Linked DNA regions of Homo sapiens: regions 2, 3 and 4 are each linked to region 1. Evidence: promoter capture Hi-C in human tissues and cell types (Jung and others, 2019). All regions are on one chromosome and are shown on one strand. The core of a region is centred on a gene start or on the middle of the fragment in contact, and the rest is flanking DNA. Distances in the headings are between cores, read along the strand shown.

Region 1 (2,789 bases), core at 107-2,606:
CTCAAGTCAACTAAGTTTACTTTGAGCCACTTCAAACCTCAAACTTAAACAGAATTTATTAAATAAACACAACCAAGAAAGGAAAGGGAGCCAAGAAACCACAGTAAGTCTCGATCCCAAAGGGGGAAAAAGGGTTCTCAAGTTAAGTTTCAGTGTCCCACCCTCAACGACCCTAAAGAGGGCATCCGTTTCATCTATTAAAATAGCCACTGTTTGCCCTAAACGAATTTTCTTTACATTCGAATTCAAAATCTGCATGGACACTCTACACAAATACATGATCATTTGATCCCAGGGTCTGGAGTTATCCCAAGCCTTAAAAGAGCACTTCTCGGCGAGCAAAGTAACCGATTAAACCCTTGCCTCTCCTTCTCACACTTCATTAAGCCGTCTCCTCTGGAAGTGTTTGAACCCCTGCACAGGAAGCCCGCACGTTTTGCAAAGGAAATACCAGACAAGACCTTTCTTGGAGAAAGGCAGGTCCCCGCTGAACATTTTATTGGGCTTCCTGCACCCGGGCAGTCGAGCGGGCGGATCGCCCCGCCCGCGCCCCGGCGCGCGCCGCCTCACCTGGCGCGGGTGTCCCAGGGCGCCCCGAGAGCCAGCCACCCACGCAAACGGAAACGCACCTTCGCTACCTCCCGGAGCAAAATGCGAGCGCGGGACAGGACGAAACAAAACCTGCCCGGGCTTACTCATCAGAGACTCCGCGGGGGGATGGGGGGTGATTTCAGGAGACTCCCAGAAAGTTGCGCCTTCCAGGGCTTAGGAAAAAGTACCCAGGGCGCGCGGCGTGGTGGGCAGACGCCTCTCTCCCTGGGCTCCGGAGGCCAGGTCGGACTGGGAGCGCACTTACCTCGGTGAAGAAGTTATCCATTGTTCCAGCGCAGTCCCGGACTCGCCGAGTGCCGCTCCGACTCGCGGAAGTCAGCGCCGCCGCGGGTCCGGGGAAACCATGCGTGTCACGGCGCCACTCCCGAGGACGCGCGCCCGCGGGGCTCCCCTGCTGCCATCGCCCGGTCCCTTCTTGTCCTTCTCACCTTTTGTTCGCCCAAACCCAAGTCCCTAACTCGCCCGTCCCGACGGCAGCCTTTGTCTCTTCTTCCTCCAAGTTCCTCACTACTGGGCGCAGCGCTCGCAAGCGGAGAACAGCTGGTGGCACATTCTTCCCCCAGGCGGGGGAAGGCGGCGGGGTGCTGGCGAGCGCGGCCCCCTCCCTCTGCGCTCCGGCCGGGGGCCCTCGGGGCGGGCAGGAGGACAGCGGGCCGCAAAGTGAGCAGGAGCCGCGATCCCCGCGCGAGCGCTTGGAGGTGAGCAGTCCCGCGCCGCGGCTCAGCCAGCTCTCGCCCGCGGGACTACAGCCCAGCGACCTCGCCCCGCCCTCCCGCAGCCGGCCCCGCCCTCCCGCAGCCGGCCCCGCCCTCCCGCTCGCGGCCCCGCCCCCAGGAGCTTGGCCCTCCGCCAACCACACCGTCTGGCCCCGCCCGGGCGGAGCGCCCCGCCCCCTTCCCGACCAGGCCCCGCCCACTCTAAGCCCGAAGCAGCCGCAGGCTCGTTAGCGGACCCGGGAGGGGGCCGCGTGTTTCCCCAGGTCTTCCCACGTAGGCGTGGGGAGGGGATTTAACTCTTCCCTCTGCAGAGAGAGACTAAACAATCACTTAGAGGGGAGGAGAAGGGACTGGGGGCTTCTGTGCCTTTCATGTTTAGCAGACCCGGGAACCGGCTCAACACGGATCTCATTAATGCAGCCCGGTAGACTAGCAATCTCGGGAAGGAAGCGCGGTCAGCGGAGCTGCCGGGGCTGCGGGGCCAGATCAAAGCGGAAGACGGAGGCTAATCAGAATTTCTGGAAGCTGCATTCCCGTGTTGACTTTCTGTCCTGCAGTCGGGTTTGCTTAAGACGTTTGCGTAACAGCGGGGAAATGTAGTTTTGAAACTGGAAGGGGACGTGGCCAATATCACCTTTAAAAATGTAACCCTTTTCTAGACCTCAAGGAAGCAGAGATGGCAGATGGCACTGAGATGGACGAATGATCAAACCCACCTGGCACTGAGTCCCGTTTCCCCTAGGGCAGTTCTTTTAACTTTATGCTGTGCGAGGGTCACCTGGGAACCTTGTTAGAACGCAGGCTGGAACAATCTGCTTTCCAGGTGCCCCTCAGGTGCTACCTGGTCCTGTGCTGAACGAAAGCTTGTAACAAGTAGAGAAATTAAGAGTAAACGTTTGTAGCAATTTAATAATGCCACGACATCCAAGCACATGATCAGTGGACTCTTTGAACCGAGTATAAACCAGTTTGGGTGTTGTCAGACTCACGTGGTGAGTCACACCTGGCGCCGCAGTGTATTGGTACCTGGCCGACTGGGAACAAAAATGGCTGGTTCTTCAGCACAAAAGATTTGAGATGCTCTCTCCAGGGAATTTGCCAACTGCTACTCAACCTTTAAAACTCAGCTCACAAAGTCACACCTTCCAGGGGAAGGAACCCTTCCCAAAGATGCTACTCCACTCACCCCACCCAAGCTCCCCGTAACCACTGGGCTAGATGCCCACTCTAGGATTTATTCCTAAGACTGTTGGGGAAGGACTGTGCTTTAAGATGAGTATCCCCAGGCTGTCTCACAGCATGAATGAATGAATGAAACATCCTTCTGTAATCCTTATGGGGAAAGTCAAGCATGTTTGTAACTTATCCCAGTCCAGTTCTTCACCATTAATATCATTGCTCCCACCTCACTTCCCTTTAGAAAGAGTCAAGGTGTAAATTAGTTAATGATATTGTGCAATG
Region 2 (2,700 bases), core at 16-2,515, 320 kb before region 1:
AGTTCAACCATTGTGGAAGTCAGTGTGGCGATTCCTCAGGGATCTAGAACTAGAAATACCATTTGACCCAGCCATCCCATTACTGGGTATATACCCAAAGGACTATAAATCATGCTGCTATAAAGACACATGCACACATATGTTTATTGCGGCACTATTCACAATACCAAAGACTTGGAACCAACCCAAATGCCCATCAATGATAGACTGGATTAAGAAAATGTGGCACATATTCACCATGGAATACTATGCAGCCATAAAAAAGGATGAGTTCATGTCCTTTGTAGGGACATGAATGAAGCTGGAAACCATTCTCAGGAAACTATCACAAGGACAAAAAAACCAAACACTGCATGTTCTCACTTATAGGTGGAAACTGAACAATGAGAACACTTGGACACAGGAAGGGGAACATCACACACCAGGGCCTGTCATGGGGTCGGGGGAGTGGGGAGGGATAGCATTAGGAGATACATCTAATGTAAATGATGAGTTAATGGGTGCAGCACACCAACATGGCACATGTATACATACGTAACAAACCTGCACGTTGTGCACACGTACCCTAGAACTTGAATAAAAAAAAAAATCACATCAGAGACGCTTTCTAGGCTGCAGATGTAACATGCCCAAAAGAGGAGCTGCATCATAAGCCATTAAATTTCAATACAGCGATCAGCAAGACTTAGGAAACGGACCTTTCACTCCATTCTGTGCCTATCCAAGGCAACCATCAGGGCTTACCACTTTCCTCACCAAAAACAGACACTTCACACAAAGATTTCTACGTGATGTTTTCCAATAGCTTTATTCATAATAGTCAAACATGAAAACTACCTGAAGGAACATCAACTAGCAAATGGATAAACAAATTGTGGTACATCATCAAAGTGGTACACTACCCAGCAATACAAAGCAGCAAATAACTGATACACACAGCAGAGATGAATCACAAAACTACGCTGAGTAAGCAAAGCCAGACACAAAAGACATCACACACTTTAGGAGGCTGAGGCAGGCAGATCACCTGAGATCAGGAGTTCGTGACCAGCCTGACCAATATGGTGAAACCCTGTCACCACTAAAAATACAAAAATTAGCCAGGCTTGGTGGCATGTGCCTGTAGTCCCAGCTACTCGGGAGGCTGAGGCAGGAGAATCGCTAGAACCCAGGAGGTGGAGGTTGCAGTGAGCCAAGATCGCACCACTGCACTCCAGTCTGGGAGAGAGAGAGAGACTCCGTCTCAAAAAAAAAAAAAAAAGGACATCACCCTATCACCCTAAATAACACCATTTATACAAAGCTTTAGGGAAGTCCAACCTAGTCAACAGTGACAGAAACAGATCAGTCCCCAGGGGTGGGTGCTGATAGAACAGGGATGCAAAGAAGCCTTTAAGGGTGATGAAATATTCTAGATCTCAACTGCCAGTATGGTTACACAGGCACATATGATACATTTGACTGTATACTTACAGTATGGGCATTTTATTGGTGGTAAACCACAAAAAGTTGATATTTAAAAAAAAACCAACATTTTCTATTACATTGGGCTCATTCCATTTCAGGATGTGCTTACAAGTACAACATGGGTTGCTTCTGAGAGGAAACTGCGTAGACAGGGACAGGCGTGGGAAGACATCAAAATGTTTACCCTTCTGTACATTTAAACATCTGAACTGTAAGGCTATGTTAGTTAATTTTTAAATAAATAAAATTTTAAATGAAGGAAAAAATTCTAAAAACATGTTCTTCATTGGTGAAATGAGTGAGATAGTATTATCTGAGGCCCCTCATCACCACAAAACTATGGGACTGTTACCCAATCTACTTCAGTTGTGGAAACCCTGCTTTTTGAGACAGGCACTCTATGTGGCCTCTATTTTACCAAACTCCTCTGAGTTCTCATGAATATCATTTTTTAGCATTTTTTCATATTTCAGTATTTTTCATAAAATATACCATAGATAAGAATGCATATGTGTGTGTGTGTGCCTGCACGTCTCGGATTCGAGAATGTCTTTTATTTTCTTTGTAGTTTTATCCCCTATGTGTGTATCCCTAACCAATCCTGTTCAGTTCCTGCACCATTTAAAACTTAATTGAATCATTCAGCATATATTACTTTGTGCATCTTTTGACCAAAATTACATTTGTAAAATTCATCCCTGTTGTTGCTAAAGCTGTATTTTCATTGTTATATGGTATCACAATTTATAATAAATAAATGAACCACAGTGTACTTATCCATTAAATTATTTGTGGATACTTCTACAAAGTATTTTTTTTTTTGGTCCCTGTTGCCTACAGAAAAAACAAATCCAAACACACAACATAGCATCTGAGGCAACTACTGCCCCCACAAACCACCTAGCCAACCTTATCTCCCACTACATTTTCTACCAGCCCATGCTGCCATTGCATCTGTTTACTGTGTAGTGGTTGAAATATTAGGTACACCTTCAAGATGCTATTGTGTTCATTGTATTCCTCAGGGTTAGAATGCTCTTGATCATCTACTAGATCTCCCAAATCATTCTTATCCACTGAGGTTTAAGCATGATCTCCTTATTAAGAACCCCACAATCTCTTCCATCCACAATACCACGTTCCCCAAAACCATATCAAAATGAATTATCCTTTCCTGAATCTTCCACCACACTTAATTCATGCAACTTTTAGTTATACCCATTGGTTACGGCT
Region 3 (2,885 bases), core at 323-2,822, 440 kb before region 1:
CACAGGCAGGATTATGGATCCCTAAATGCCAAGCTACACAAATAGAAATCAAAATAGTTAAAAAGCGGCTTTGGTTCCCAGGTGAAACTCCTTGGTCCTAAGGCATCTAGATTCTTATTTTCTCTCTGAACCCCTCCAGCTGTTCCTAAATTAGTACCCACAAAGTGATTCCATAATCATGAACCCAACTTCACAAACTTCAATTACAACACGTGCCCATAATAACCATGACCATGGCAACTATCTGCTAAGCTCTCCCTGTGTGCCAGGCACTATGTTAAGCACTCTGCCCGCACTGTCCCAATGTCCTCCACATGATCCCCCTAGGACCCCATCCCATTACGATACCCTGCAAGGCAGGGTTATCTCCATTTTACCCAAGAGAAAACTGAGGCTGAAAAGGGCTTGAAACACAGCAGATCTCCTGGTTACCGACCACGACCGTCGCATCTGGTAACGTTCTTTCAGGGCAACTATGAATTGCAATTAATTTATGACATTTGTAACACTGACTCCCTATGAGACTTTAAATCCCATGAAGGAATTCTTGGACAGTGCTCTGTCTTCAGTAGCTAACAGAGCTTGACATCTATGAGGCACATAAAAATACTGAATGAATATAAACAGTAAACATCCAAAGAAGAAAATATCAAAAATAATTAACAGTGGTTATTTGGTGGCACCATGTTTTTAATTCACTTATCCGAATGTTTCTATACATTACGTGTTGGTAATAATTAGCATGCATTCCCTCATATGTATAAAAATATACAAAATAATAGACAAAAAGTCCTATTAAAAATCTAGAAAACAACTGTCATCTATAGGGAAGAGTTTTGTTTTGTTCTTTCTTGCAAATGGGCAGTTAAAATGCCTTCAAAATTAGCTAATTAGGAAATACGGGCCAGGCACAGTGGCTCACACCTGTAATCCCAGCACTTTGGGAGACAAAGGCGGGAGTATCCCTTGATCCCCAGAGTTCATGACCAGCCTAGACAACATGGCAAGACCCTGTCTCTACGAAAGAAAGGAAAGAAAGGAAGAAAGAAAGAAAGATGCTTCATATATTCCAAGACTTTCTGGAACTGAAAATCGGTATTTCATATGAGATTTCTGCGGGCAAAACTTGAGCCTTAATGTGTGACTTGGGGATCCCTGGATCCATGAGTATCTCCTGCGGGCACTGTTCCCACATGGCCCACCAGCATTTGTGATACCAGTAGAGAACAGAACTGGGCCCTGACGAATATCCAACCTTCACATGAAATATCAGAGAAAAATGACTCCCTTTTTGGTTTTGCTTTTCAAGTTTTTGTAGGGCAACTGCACCCCGCTGGAGAACATTTTCAGACAGTGTTGTCCTCTCTCTCTCTCTCTCTCTCTCTCTCTCTCACACACACACACACACACACACCATTCTTGTTAGGTTTTAACTTTTTCACATCCTTATGAATTTATAGTGCAATAATCATTTCCAAAGATGTTTTGATTTCTGTTATAATACCTCCAGAAAGTATACATTATTTCACACTACTCATTATTTTATTTTCAATTTATAAGAAATGGAAGTTGAAGCCAAACAATATTTTTCAGAAAGTTTGCTAAGTCACCATTCCATATTGACAAACTTAAAAAAAAAAAAAAAGGATTTGTTATAACTCGTCACCTGGCAACCATGACAAACAGCTGCTGCAACCATCACACCTATAAATATGCTTTGGCTTGGAGACCTTTCATTCTCAGCTAGTGACTAAGGGTCTCATGCTCTCTACTGGTAGTGGACATCTGTTGATGCTAATTCCTGTCGAATTTTTCTTAGAAAGGTCAGTCAGTATCTGGTTACAGATTTTAACATTTCTTAGTGTAATGTGTTAGAATTTTTTTTAATCCTGTGGATACTTATTATGTTCCTCTGTGTGTAGGTGCTTGCATATGACTGTATGTAGGCAGAGAAACAAAATAAAAACAGATATATTTCTCTGCATGAGCACTCACTGAATTAGAACCATGACAACGCAAATAAGATTTGTCAACTAGAGGATTAAAAAGAGTAAACACAAGATTAAGAAATTACATCGCACTCAACTTGAAGCGTTCACTTTCTCAGGCCAATTAGCCACGTGAGCGACTCCTCCCAAGGCCAGGGACCAGAAGGCGCCAGTGAGTGCTGGCTTTTTCTGCCTGGAGAAGCTTTCTGCCCGGAGAGCCCCATCTTCCTCAGAGCAACTTAGTGTTCTATTTGGGGCTCTCCCTTTTTTTATATCAAGTTTAAAACGACTCAGAGATCAGCTACTTACTTTTGCGATTGACCCTTTCCACCTCCTATCTCAAACTGAGCACTGCTACTTCTCCAGGTGATCATCAATTATCCAATCCACCTAGATCATTTGGGAGGCTGACACTCAACTACCCATCATAGTATTTATTACAGTTTCAAGTTTCTATGAACAAGATGCCAAGTATAAGTCATTTTTCAGCGTTTTTAATTTTAACATTTTAATAACTAGACTTTCATAAGCCCAGGGCATGAGTAATGCAAATTCCATTACTAGCATAGGACAAGCACCTACTTGAGACCTGCAGGAGATTCAACACCCTTTCATTTGTGAATGCCAAGATTTGCTTCAATCACTGTCCCTGAGGGCAGAAAATATTTCTACTTTATCCCTGAAGGACAGATAATATCAGATAGTCAAGAAACACTCCTCAAGGAAAACAAAACTGTTATTGTGAAGCAGGCTGGCTCATTTAGATATAAGTCTTTTCTTGCATTCCACTGAAGATCCACAATTTCTGATGAATTTCAACCCAGGGTTTACTGTAGTTGGAGTCAAAAGTAAATGTCCCTTCCCTGCATTGCAACATTTGGCCTACTTATATGAAAC
Region 4 (2,943 bases), core at 54-2,553, 370 kb after region 1:
GGCACTCATTTAGGGGCTTAAATATATTTGATTCTTCACCACTGTGGGGTCATCTAAAACATCTTTTAAAATTTCAAATATGACTTATAAACAGATCCAGAAATGGATTAAGGAGGGGGAGTAAAAAGAATAAACTTGAAAACAAGTACTCAGATAAATACCTGTACATGACTTTTCATAGAAGCATTATTCACAATAGCCAAAAGGTGAAAACAGCCTAATGTTCATCAATGGATGAATTAATAAGCAAACTTTGGTATATCTATGCAACTGAATATTATTTAGCAGTAAAGAAAAGAAGTACTGATACATGCTACAACATGGGTGAACTTGGAAAACATCATTCTGAGTGAAAAAAATGCAACACGAAAGGTCTCATATTGCATGCTTTTCTTTATTACCAGTGGGTACCTGGTTTTCTTTTGGGGCAATGAAAATATTTTAGAACTAGAGAGAGGGGGTAGTTGAACAACACTGCAAATGTACCAAATGCCACTGAATTGCACACTTTAAAATTAATTGTATGTTATATGAATTTTACCTCAATAATAATAACAGGCTGGGTGTGGTGGCTCACACTTGTAATCCCAGCACTTTAGGAGGCCGAGGCCAGTGAGTCATGAGGTCAGGAGTTAGAGAACAGCTTGGCCAACATAGTGAAACTTTTAGTCTCTACTAAAAATACAAAAAAATTAGCTGGGCATAGTGGCGGGCGCCTGTAATCCCAGGTACTCGAAAGGCTGAGGCAGGAGAATCGCTTGAACCCAGGAGGCGGAGGTCACAGTGAGCCGAGATCTTGCCGCTGCACTCCAGCCCGGATGACAGAGTGAGATTCCATCTCAAACAAACAAACAAACAAACAGAAAACAAAACAAGAAGAAAGAATAAACCTAGAATAAAAGTCTCTCTCTCTCTCTCTCTCTCCCTCTCCCTCCCTCCCCCTCTGTCTCTCTTTCTTTCTTTCTTTCTCTCTTTCTTTCTCTTTCTTTCTTTCTTTTCTTTTCTTTCTTTCCTTTTTTCTTTCTTTCTCTCTTTCTTTTCTTGACAGGGTCTCACTCTGTCCCCCAGGCTAGAGTGTAGTGGTGCAATCTTGGCTCACTGTAGCCTCAGCTTTCTGGGCTCAAGTGATCCTCCTACATCAGCCTCCTTAGTAGTTGGCACTACAGGCTAATTTTTATTTGTTTGTTTTGTAGAGACAGAGTTTTGCCATGTTGCCCAGGCTGGTCTGAAACTCCTGGGCTCAAGTGATCCTCCCACTTTGGCCTCCAAAATGCTGGGATTACAGACATGAGCCACTGCACCTGGCCTAGAAATTTTATTATTTTTATTCACTGCTATGCCTTAAACAATGCCCTACACAGGGCAGGTGTGCAGTACATATTTGGTGAATAAATGTATGGATGAACATCAGTATTGAGTCTTAGTTTTCTTCAACATCAGGCATCATGGGTACTATATTAGCCAGGGTTCTCCAATGAAACAGAACATATAAATATAAAGAGATTTATTATAAGGTATTGGCTCATGTGACTATAGGGGCTGAGAAGACCTAAGGTCTACTGTCTGCAAGCTGGAGACCGAGGAAATCCAGAGGTGTAGTTCAAAGGCCTCAGGACCAGGAGCACTGCAAGCAGATCCGTGCCCTAGCTCAACCAGGAAGGAAGAGAGGGAATCCAATCTTCCTCCACCCTTTGATTCTATTGAGGTCATCAGTGGACTGAATGATGCTCAGCACAATGGGGAGGATTATCTGCTTTACTCAGCCCACCAATGTAAATGATAATCTCTTCAGGAAACATCCTCACAGATGTGCCAGAAATAATGTTCAATCAGCTATCTGGGCATCCCATGGACAAGCCAAATTGACTCATAAAATTAACCATTAACCATCACAGATACCATAAAGGCGTAGAATTTTCTAAAGAAAAGGAATTTTTTTTTTTTTTGAGATGGAGTCTTGTTTTGTTGCCCAGGCTGGAGTGCAATGGCACAATCTTGGCTCACTGCAAGCTCCACCTCCCGGGTTCAAGTGATTCCCCTGCCTCAGCTTCCCGAGTAGCTGGGATTACAGGTGCCCACCACCACACCCAGCTAATTTTTGTATTTTTAGTAGAGACGGGGTTTCACCAGTTTGGCCAGGCTGGTCTCGAACTCCTGACCTCAGGTGATCCACCCACCTCGGCCTCCTAAAGTGTTGGGATTACAGGCGTGAGCCACTGTGCCTGGCCAGGAGGTACTTTTTAATCTTTTACTGCCACCTGGAAATGGAGGATGCCGTTTAGATAGTTTTGGAATGAAACTAAAGACAATCTAGTTGGCAAGATGAGACAGGTAAACAGAAAGTTAAATGATAATGCAGGAGAATAATATGATGTTATAGTGGAAGAAACAACCATCTGGGAATCATTAGATTTCATTTTTGATTCTGACTATTTTACTCAGGAGAGGATTTCAATCTCTGTGGGCCTCAATTTTCTCATTGGTAAATTTAGAAGGTGAGACCAGATGGCTTCTCTGACCCATTCTATACTTTACTTGTTATGCACATTTGTTTGGCAAAGGACACGAACTCTATGAATTTAAATGAATAGAAAATCCTCCTAGGTCAGGTCAGTTAATTCTTCCTCCACCCTGATCATGTGACAGGTCAAAAGAAGAAGAAAGCTGAGAAAATCTCTTCTAAACATGAAATTCTGTTGCTTAGTATAATTTTGTGAAATGTGGGCGAGAGTGAATCCTAAGATATATCCCAAGCTTTTTGAGGAAACGATTCTTATTTAGGAAAGTGATGAGTATGTGAAATTTGACTTACTCTTGTAAATTTTTTTTGAGATGGAGTCTCGCTCTGTCACCCAGGTGGGAGTGCAGTGGCATGATCTCGGCTCACTGCAACCTCTATCTCCTGGGTTCAAGTGACTCTCCTGCCTCAGCCTCCTGAATAGC

What was found. The method cuts DNA at HindIII sites, captures the fragments that hold promoters and counts their contacts. A contact is called where the count stands out against the background at its distance.
Region 2: a contact is called between a fragment that was not itself captured here and the fragment with the promoter of MYO10 in region 1, in 1 of the 25 tissues and cell types used here (H1 embryonic stem cells).
Region 3: a contact is called between a fragment that was not itself captured here and the fragment with the promoter of MYO10 in region 1, in 2 of the 25 tissues and cell types used here (mesendoderm cells and thymus).
Region 4: a fragment that was not itself captured here is called in contact with the fragment with the promoter of MYO10 in region 1 in 1 of the 25 tissues and cell types used here (aorta).

The regions. Positions count from the first base shown.
Region 1 is chr5:16,934,932-16,937,720 of GRCh38, forward strand. It overlaps MYO10 (myosin X), which reads right to left and starts at 1,357. Exons shown (of 41, transcript NM_012334.3): 1 at 857-1,357. The coding sequence starts at 877. The HindIII fragment of the contact is 7,585 bases long and covers 1-2,514 here.
Region 2 is chr5:16,610,820-16,613,519 of GRCh38, forward strand. The region is part of intron 1 of RETREG1 (reticulophagy regulator 1); the gene reads right to left. Among named protein-coding and RNA genes, the nearest start is that of RETREG1-AS1, 3.8 kb to the right of the region's middle. The HindIII fragment of the contact is 6,881 bases long and covers 1-2,700 here.
Region 3 is chr5:16,490,839-16,493,723 of GRCh38, forward strand. The region is part of intron 3 of RETREG1 (reticulophagy regulator 1); the gene reads right to left. Among named protein-coding and RNA genes, the nearest start is that of ZNF622, 26 kb to the left of the region's middle. The HindIII fragment of the contact is 5,761 bases long and covers 1-2,885 here.
Region 4 is chr5:17,307,911-17,310,853 of GRCh38, forward strand. No RefSeq gene overlaps it. Among named protein-coding and RNA genes, the nearest start is that of LINC02111, 78 kb to the right of the region's middle. The HindIII fragment of the contact is 7,473 bases long and covers 1-2,943 here.